3 separate regions of the Homo sapiens genome follow, and regions 1 and 3 are each linked to region 2. Evidence: promoter capture Hi-C in 16 types of primary human blood cells and fetal thymus (Javierre and others, 2016). All regions are on one chromosome and are shown on one strand. Each heading gives the region's core, a stretch centred on a gene start or on the middle of the fragment in contact. The rest is flanking DNA. Distances are from core to core; before and after follow the strand shown. Region 1 overlaps CUX2 (cut like homeobox 2). Region 2 holds the start of CUX2 (cut like homeobox 2). Region 3 overlaps CUX2 (cut like homeobox 2).

Region 1 (3,066 bases), core at 221-2,720, 200 kb before region 2:
TGTATTATTTATTTCTTTTTCTTGTCTTCTGGGCATTTCTCTTGAACCAGTGCCAATCAGGCCTCAGCCTGTGGTCCTGAAGCCTCCTGTAGACTCTCTCTCTCCCTGTCTCACCCCAGGGCACGGGGTTCAGAGCTGGACCTGACACTCCATGTGACCTGAGCATGATTATCCACCTTGCAAGCAGATCTGCTCTGTGTAACTGAGGCCCCTGCGCTGATCGTCCCATCTCCTACCTGCCTGGTCTTTACGCCTCAGTCACTCATCTCTACAACAGGCATAATAATAACCCCTATCCCAGGGGCTTGTGACAATGATTTCTAAAGTCAGTATGTGTAGCAAGCTTAGCAGAGAGCCTGATATATACTGAGACCCAGGAGATCTGGCTGCTGTGGCTACTGATGTTCCTAGGAACAGTATTCTTGGTCTGCAGCGTGTTTGAGGAATCTGTTGGTTCAGCACGAGCCCTTTCTTAGCCCAGTGTTTGGTCTCAATGGGAAAAATGATGGTGATAACAAGGATCATTTCTTGAGCATCTACTATGTGCTAGGCATAGTGTCATGGAATCCTCCAACAACAACCCTATCAGGGAAGGACAAATACTATCCCCCCTTTTCCAGATAGGAAAGATGAGGCTCAAGGAGGGGAGATGACTTGCCTAAGGTCATATGGCTGACGAGAGGCAGACCTGGGGCCGTGCCAGGTCCCACTGGCTCCTGGAGGATTCCCAGACTGAATCTCACAGGTTGGGTATCCAACAAAGGGGCTTGTTTCCCTGAAGCCAGGTCCTCTTCTGCTAATGGTGTCATGTCCCACTGGCCCCCAAAACCTGAGCCCCAGACCCTCTGTCTCCACCTGCCACATCAACCTGGATCCCCACTTCCCAACTCTTTCAAACCTGTCTCCACTTTGCTGCTCCTCTGTCGCTGTCCCAGGCCAGGTTATCATTAGTGCTCACCTCATTCTTTTTTTTTTTTGAGATGGAGTCTTACTCTGTTGCCTGGGCTAGAGTGCAGTGGCGCGATCTCAGCTCACTGCAATCTCTGCCTCCAGAGTTCAAGCAATTCTCCTGCCTCAGCCTCCTGAGTAGCTGGGATTACAGGCACATACCACCATGCCTGGCTAATTTTTGTATTTTTAGTACAGATGGGGTTTTACCATGTTGATCAGGCTGGTCTCGAACTCCCGACCTCATGATCCACCAGCCTCAGCCTCCCAAAGTGCTGGGATTACAGGCATGAGCCACTGTGCCTGGCCGCTCGTCTCATTCTTAAGTGCTCCAAAGCACAACCCAACTCTGAGTCAGCCCCCTCCTGCCTGTACACCTCCAGAGAGATCTTTCTGGAACTTGGTTTCCGGTCATCCTTCCTTATATATCCAAAAAGCTTCTGTGGTACCTCCCTCTGCCCACAGACAAACTGCAGACTTAACTTGGCATTCAGGACCCTGGTGTCCTGCCCATGTGTGTTTCCTGGCCTTGTCCTCTCCCCCAGCCCCGCCTCCCAGCACTGCTCACTAAATAGCCATCCGGGAATAATTATTCATTTTAAGCTTTCTTTGTGCTAGTATCATGCTGAACACTTGATATGCATTACCAGCTCACTCAACCTCTTGACAAACCTATGTACTAGGTACCGTTTTATTGATGAGAAAACTGAGGGTCAGAAAGAGAGGAAGTGGGCTGGGGACAGTGGCTCATGCCTGTAATTCCAGCACTTTGGGAGGCTGAGATGGGGGCATCACTTGAGGTCAGGAGTTCCAGACCAGCCTGGCCAAAATGGCCAAACCCCATCTTTACTAAAAATACAAAAATTAGCTGGGCGTGGTGGTGTGTGCCTGTAGTCCCAGCTACTCGGGAGGCTAAGGTGGGAGGACTGTTTGAGCCTGGGAGGCAGAGGTTGCAGTAAGCTGAGATCACGCCACTGCACTCTAGCCTGGGTGACAGAGGGAGACTCTGTCTCAGAAAAAAAAAAAAAAAAAAGAAAGGGGAAGTGGCTTGCCTCAGATCACCTCACCGGTGTTCAAACTGGTCTTGAACCCAGGTCTGCCTGATGCCAAGACCTGTGCTCACCACCACTCTTCATTCCCCATGTTCCATCCTGCCCAATCTTCCTAATCTCAGCTGGGACCTCACTTCCTCCAGAAGTCTTCTCTGATTGCCTGCCCAAAAAATAACCACTCTCATTGGTACACCTGGGACATTTGTTCCTACTGCACACTGGCTTTTTTTTAAGTGGACCTTGGGCATGGGATCCCAATGGTGGCTCAGCCTCCTTGCTGAACAGAGTTCATCTCTTTCTCTAGCCAGCTCAGCACAGGGAAGAATGCATAGTAGGAGCTTTATAACATCTGCCAAATTGTTAACAGTCCCTCCTTGCTCCTGCTTTGCTGCTCCCTGAATTTGGCAGGCCTCTTGGGTTTCATTCCCATTCACCTGTCCAAAATGTACCACTGTGTGCAAGGCTGTGTATTCAGGGCTCTGTCCTATTCCCTGACAGTGAGTGAGGTGCTCTATCTGTGAGGGAGTCCACAGGGCAGCAGACAGGGTTATGTGCTAACTTAATTCTGTTTTTTTACCCACTCTTGGGCATATAATGTTAGACTATAGCCTTGAAATTGGGTATGGTTTTGTAACAGAGTTCTGGACAAATGAATGTGGGCAGAAATGATGTGACCACTTCCAGTTTTGGTCCCTGAGAACCTCCTAGGAGGGCCATCATGTTTTCCTCTTTTCCCACCTACCAGATGATGGTAGACGCCTGGATCCCTGAATGACTGCATGGATCAGAGCCTCCCCCACCACAACTTCTATCAACCAGCGCTAGACTGTGATGTAACCTCATCTGTGTTTGAAGTTGTTACAACAGAAACGAGCCCATTTTGACTAATGCAGACAGGCCTGGGTTCAAATTCTAGCTCTTCAACTTCTCAGTATGTGATCTTGGTGTCTCAATCAGAGTATCAGTTTCCCCTTTGTAAAAGAAACACAATGTTCTCAGGATTCTCCAGAATATTCCACAACAGCCCAGATGTCGGATAACCAGCCCTGAGTATGACACTCAATCA
Region 2 (3,250 bases), core at 6-2,505:
AGAGGCCGGAGCCGCGCCTCCACGGTGCGTTCTCTGAGATTCCACCTCCCAGCCCCGGCTCCTACGGGGTCCGCAGAGAACACCTCCAAATCTAGGGGAGGCACACAGACTCCCACAAAGGGAGGATGGGGAGAAAGTGATGGGGTTTCGAAGAGTCGCCCTAGGGAAGGAGAGAGAAAGAGCAGGGAAGAGAGGAAAGAAACAGAAGAAAAGCAGAGACGGGAGAGAGGAGACGAGGGGAGCAGCGGGGAGAAACGCAGGAGGCAGAACAAGCAAGGAAATCTCTCATTTAAAAGTTCCCTTGGGCCCGAGGGCTGGGAGTCACCTGCTCTGCGCCGCTCCCGGCTCTCCACCGCCCTGGAGGCAGGAGCGCAAACTTGCGAGCGCCCGGGCCCACCTCCACCGCCCGTCTGCATCTAGACTTGGGAAGGGGATGGAAGGGGCGGGGGGGTAAAGGCAAGAAGCAAGACGAACCCCAAGACCCCGGCCCGAGGAGAAGAGGTCTGCCGGCGCTTGCGGCCAGTCCGGCGGCGGCGGCTCTGGCGGCGGCGGCGGCGGCCCCCGGGTGGCGGCGCGTCCGGGCTGCGCAGCCAGGCGGGCGGCGAAGGCTGAGGTGCCGGCGAGCGGCGGGGCGCGGAGCCGCCTCCTCGCCAACCCCGGCTCCCTCCTCCTCTCTCCTCCTCCTCCTCCTCTCCTCCTCCTCCTCCCTGCCCGCCAGCTCCCTCCCTCCCTCGCCGGAGCCCCAGCCGGGTGCGGACTGGCAAGCGGCGCGCTCCGCGGCCTCCCCGGGCGCCGCGAAGTTGGGAGGCGCGCAAAGTGCGGCTCAGGGGGGACCGCCGGGGGTTCCCGCCAGCAGCCCCCTGCCCGAGGCCGTAGCCCCTGCCTTCCCCGCTCCTCGCCCGGCCGCCTGGCCGCTCGGCCGCTCCGCCGACCGAGGGCTCACTAGCGCTTCTCCATGGTCGCGGCAGCTAATCGATGACTGAACCGAACAAAGAGCAGCGGCGAGATCAATTCCTAATACCTATCGATGGGCAGCGGGCGGCCGAGCCCCGGCGAGCCCCGGCAGCCGCCGCCCGCCGCCCCAGGGCGTCCGCCTGCCCGCCCGGGGACCTCCCCAATGCGCCCAGGGCGCGCCCGGGGGCTCCTCACGGCCGCGCGGCCGGCGCTGCCCGCACTAACCTGGAGTCGCCGTAGATCAAATCGCTTCCAATATTGAAACATCGATCCCACATTGGCGGCCATCTTGGGGGCTATCGAGACGCGCACACACAAGAGTTTGGCTTTTCTCAATGGCTGCACTCAATATCCGGGCTGGACTCCCCCCAGCCCCGGGGCCGCCGCCGGCCGCCCGGGCCCTGAGCGCCGCGGCCCGGGGCCCCTCGGGCGCCCTCCGGCCTCCTGCCACCCGCTGCCCCTCGCCGCCGCCGCGCCGCCGCCGCCGCCGCCGCCAACGGGCCCGGGAGCCGTGCGCCCCCCCGACCCCCGGAGGGCGCGGGCGGAGCGCGCCGGGCGGGGAGCTCGGCGCCCGCCCGGGGGAGGCAGCCGGGGATGGGGTGGGAGGGGAGGGGTTGGGGGGAGGCAGCCTCTCCGAGAGGCGCCGGCGCCGCCGCTGCCCTGCCTGCCGCCGGCTCCCGGGCCCGCGGAGCGCTCGCTGCATCTCCCCCCCAAGTCCGGGGTCGGTGTGCCGCGCGATTGCACTTGACTTTGGCTTTTTGCAAACTTATCAATACTGACGTAACGTGCTGATCAATGCAAAGGGAAGTTTGGGAGGGGGCGCTGCGGGAGGCGGGCGCGCGGGGCGCCTACCCCCGCTTGCACCTGTCTACCCCCAGCTCCCGGCATTGCACGCTTAAAAAAAAGTTAATAGTTTGAAATGCATTTTTTTTTCTTTTGCAATCGGAGCACACACAACACGTGCCTCGGGCTGCCGCCGCTCCATCGCCAGATATGCTTGGGATCCGAGGGTCGCAGCCAGCACTTGGGGCTGCGTAGACGCGCCGGCCGGAGGGAGGGTGGGAGCCGCCCGGGGGCGCCACTGAGTCGTGGGAAATGTCACCACCACCGCCCACAGTTTCCGCGCCATTATATTATTATTATTGGCGGGGAGGGGGGCTTCGTCTGAGTAGTAGCTCAGGGTTCTTTACGGGCGGGGGCCGAGGGCGGGGCCTCAGGTCCTTTGGAATAGGGATTTCTGTTGTTATTATCTGGGGGGTCTTTAACCCAATTATAGGGACTCCCCCACAGCTTTGCAAGGTGAAACCCTTTTACTGTGATGATGATTATTGGAGGTTTTGTTATTTGGTTCTGAACCAAACCTCTGGAGGGCCTTTTCCCCCAGTGGGCTTGTTTTATTGTTATGACTGTTGAGGGTGCCCTACCCCTGCTGTGGGGGCTCCGGATCCTTAAAAACCTCGGAGGTTTCTGCTGTTGTTATCATCATTATTATCCGGGGCTCCGTTCTTTGCAACATGACATTCCTTTATTGTGATTGTCTTTGGGGAGAGGGTCTTCAGCATGGCTAGAGGGAGGTTCCGGTCCTTTGCAATTCTTCGGACTCTTGACAACCGGGGTGACTGGATTTCTTGTTTTACATTTTTCTGTCTGCTTTTTTGTTTGTTTGTTTGTTTGTTTGTTTGTTTGTTTTTGCCTCTGTGCAAGCTCGAGGTCCTCTGTTTCCACTTCCCCTGGAGGTGAGATGTCACCTCCAGGGGGAACTCATACTCCCAGCCCCCTCCATCACCAACCCCCTTGCCTATCCCTGCCACCACCCTTAAAGGTGAGGTCACCCTTCCTCTCTGGCTTATTCCCCTGATACATAGCACCGCACCCTCTTCCCCACTCAAAAAAAGGGGACATGTTTTTCCTTTTTCTCTGATCAAAAGATTTGCTTTTATGGACAGCAAATGGAAATTATATTCTTTTTATGACCCAGCCTAGACTTCTGACATCACTCTTGGTCTGGGACAATAGATCAATACAGTGGGTTATAAAAAAGATAAAGTTTAGAAGAGTTATAAAGAAGAGAGAATCATGATGGATATTTTTGATGATTTTCCAATATTTGTGTCTCAGAGCACGTGCTTTGAGGCAATTAAAGTTTTTAATGTAATGTAAATAATTGTTTCATAAATGCTTCGGAAGAAGGTGTGATCTTTCTGAGCAATCATTTGAGCTGTTTAAAAAATGAAATGTGATTTAAACAAGGATACAGTATTTCTGTTTCCATTCCCATACATTTTCCATGAGGTCT
Region 3 (3,090 bases), core at 221-2,720, 180 kb before region 2:
AATACGCCTTTTAAGATATAGATGGCTTTTTAATTTCAGTAGATTTTGGAAAAATGAAGGTGCCAATAAGAAGTAAGCTGACCTTTTGTGTATCTCGCAGTAAATCATTTAAGGTTCACTTCAAGTCTAAGAAATATTTCATTGAAGACTCCTGGATTCAGAAGAAATGGATTGGAAGGTGCTTTGCTGGCTTATATGCAAGGAAGGTATCAGACCAGGTTTTTATAGGATGTACCAGCGAGGGAAAAAGAGAGAGAGATGGAAGGGGGGATGCTTCGGCTCACACACATCACAGACAATGTCTGCTGGTCGTGCATGTATATTTGATCACCCCTCTTGAAGCTTTCTTCACTTTAATGGTGGCAGTTTCACAAGGGGAGTACAATTCACCATGAGTTGTCATGGATTTCATTTGCATAATTCAAGAAATGCTCTGTTTATGTGGTCGGCTGCTTCCTTGCACCATCCCGAGATGGGCTTTTTTTCTGGACCATAACTCGAGGAGCATTTCTGTATATATCATCCGATTATATTTGCAGCAATCAAGCCCCATAATTTCCTAAATCCGGTGATGCAATAAATTTCTGCAATCAGATTTATTAAAAACACACACGCAGATGCGGGAGTGTATTTCTAGGGTGAACTCTTTAATCTAACATATGTATGATGAGGCCCGGCACCGTGTTGAAAGACCCCATTTGTCATCACTAATACACATTCCTCTTGCACACACAATGAAACACTTTTGCCATTAGATAATGAAATAAAAGTACTATTAACCCACTGCAAATTCTTTTCCCTCTAAGAGACGAAATGCATGGTAATTGTCTTATATCATGTCTGAGAGTCAGTAAATCTGCTCAATAGCAGCTCACCAGAGCACCATAAACCTGGCACCCCAAGCTGGGATGAGTGTCCCTGACCTATGGATTTCTTTGTAGAAATCCAAGAAGGAACTTCTATTTCTGGAGAAATGTCTAACTTCTTTAGAAAATTATGAGACTAGAAGGGAGAAGGTAGAGGCACCAAAGTAGCTTTGAAATAGAGGCAAGGGCCAGGTGCAGTGGCTCATGCCTGTAATCTCAGCACTTTGGGAGGCCAAGAGTTTGAGACCAGCCTGGGCAACATAGTGAGGCCTCCTCTCTACAAAAAATAGAACAATTACCTATAGTCCAAGCTACTTGGGAGGCTGAGGTGGGAGGACTGCTTGAGCTCAGGAGGTCAAGGCTGCAGTGAGCTGTGATGGTGCCACTGCATTCCAGCCTGGGTGACAGAGAGAGACCCTGTCTCTATTTTGGTGGGGGAGCGGAAACAGGTGCTCTCCAAGGTGCTGAAACCAATTCTTGCCGAAGCACAGGGTACTCCCACTTGAAAGTACATGGGGGCTTCCAGTTTAAAAGCCCGGTTTTTATCAGGATTAAGCCAGGTGAGGAACAAGGTGTTATGAGCAAAAAGGGGGAATTCTGGTTCATCATCACTTAAAACTAATCACAGTTTCTAATACAGAAACTACAACTGACCACAACCGAAATATCCAGTGACAGGAGAGATCAGTGTTTGCAGCAATAGACAAAGGTAGACTGGCGCGGCCAGGTGGACAGAATCTCACTTGGCAGGAGAGAAAAAAACTGGAGGGCCAGGGTCAATTTGAGTTGCAGCAGCGTACTCCCAGCTCTTCTTAGTTTTTCTCATCTCTCTTGAAGACAAAGATGTGATTTTCACATTGCTACAGGACAAACAGAACTGGGACATGGGTTTACAGCTCTCTATCTTGGATTATTGTGTGTCTGACACTTTTTTTTTTTTTTTTGAGACGGAGTCTCACTCTGTCGCCCAGGCTGGGGTGCAGTGGCGCCATCTCAGCTCACTGCAAGCTCCGCCTCCCAGGTTCACGGCATTCTCCTGCCTCCCAGCCTCCCGAGTAGCTGTGACTACAAGCACCCACCACCAAGCCTGGCTAAGTTTTTGTATTTTTAGTAGAGACAGGGTTTCACCGTGTTAGCCAGGATAGTCTCGATCTCCTGACCTCATGATCCACCCACCTCGGCCTCCCAAAATTCTGGGATTACAGGCGTGAGCCACCACACCCGGCCGTGTCTGACACTATGTTCTTATTGCAGGGACACTGGTGCCTTCCCACAATGCAGCAACCAATATACCTGGTGGGGGTGAACTTTGCCTCTCATTAAAAACATCCAGCCCAGGTTCTGAAAGGAAATTGCAGAGCAGGATAAGTCCAACCACCTGATGTGTCCTCACAGACAATTATGCCTGACTCCCTCCACCTGCACCTCCCAGGCTGCTGGTGGGTGCAAATCTGACAGGCAGGATGTCTGCTGTGTCCACACTGCAGAGAGAACAGAGCCAGGGAAGGCAGGGGGATATCACCAGTCCCCTCACCCTGACCCCACTGCAAGCCCAGCCCTTGGTGTCTTTCCTCGAGCAGACGAAGTCACTGACATCCACGTTCTTCTCAATTTTGCCTAAATCTATGCTTGTCCTTCAACCCTGAATTCTTGCCACAGTTCACTGGTAAACACACTAACACCAATAATAATAATAGTAAATACTCATAACTACCATTTATGGAAAGCTTACATGTACCAGGCACTATGCTAAGCTCCTAACATACATCATCTCATGGAACAAACACATTAATGTGTCTTGTCTGTATGGTGATTCAAACAGGGGCTTGGAAATATACTACAGTCAATTCTAATAACTGAGGTGTGGATTATCTCCTTGGTGGATTATAAAGGCATATTTTTTAATGCCCTTCTCTTCAGCGGGCTTCTGCTCTGCGTCTCCATCAGCTGGGGGGTGTTCAGGGCATTTGTTTTAAATGATATGGATGTGTAAAGCTTCAAGTGTTCAATAAATGTTGTCTTTTTTTTTTTTTGAGACAGGGTCTCACTCTTGTCACCTAGGCTGGAGTGCAGTAGTGCAGTCACAGCTCACTGCAGCCTCGACCTCCCAGGCTCAGGCGATCCTTCCACCTCAGCCTCCCTAGTAGCTGTGACTATAGGCATGTGCCATCATGCCTAGCTAATTTTTGCATTTTTTTGGGGTAGAGACAGGGTTTCACCATGT

The links. The method cuts DNA at HindIII sites, captures the fragments that hold promoters and counts their contacts. A CHiCAGO score of 5 or more calls a contact.
Region 1: a fragment that was not itself captured here is called in contact with the fragment with the promoter of CUX2 in region 2 in 2 of 17 cell types (M1 macrophages and total CD8 T cells); the score reaches 8.0 in M1 macrophages.
Region 3: a fragment that was not itself captured here is called in contact with the fragment with the promoter of CUX2 in region 2 in 5 of 17 cell types (M2 macrophages, endothelial precursors, M1 macrophages and 2 more); the score reaches 6.3 in M2 macrophages.

The regions. Positions count from the first base shown.
Region 1 is chr12:111,233,632-111,236,697 of GRCh38, reverse strand. All of the region lies in intron 3 of CUX2 (cut like homeobox 2), which reads right to left. Among named protein-coding and RNA genes, the nearest start is that of MIR6760, 69 kb to the left of the region's middle. The HindIII fragment of the contact is 166 bases long and covers 1,388-1,553 here.
Region 2 is chr12:111,032,170-111,035,419 of GRCh38, reverse strand. CUX2 (cut like homeobox 2) reads right to left here and starts at 1,255. Exons shown (of 22, transcript NM_015267.4): 1 at 1,180-1,255. The coding sequence starts at 1,242. The HindIII fragment of the contact is 8,699 bases long and covers 1-3,250 here.
Region 3 is chr12:111,210,607-111,213,696 of GRCh38, reverse strand. The region is part of intron 1 of CUX2 (cut like homeobox 2); the gene reads right to left. Among named protein-coding and RNA genes, the nearest start is that of MIR6760, 92 kb to the left of the region's middle. The HindIII fragment of the contact is 2,251 bases long and covers 345-2,595 here.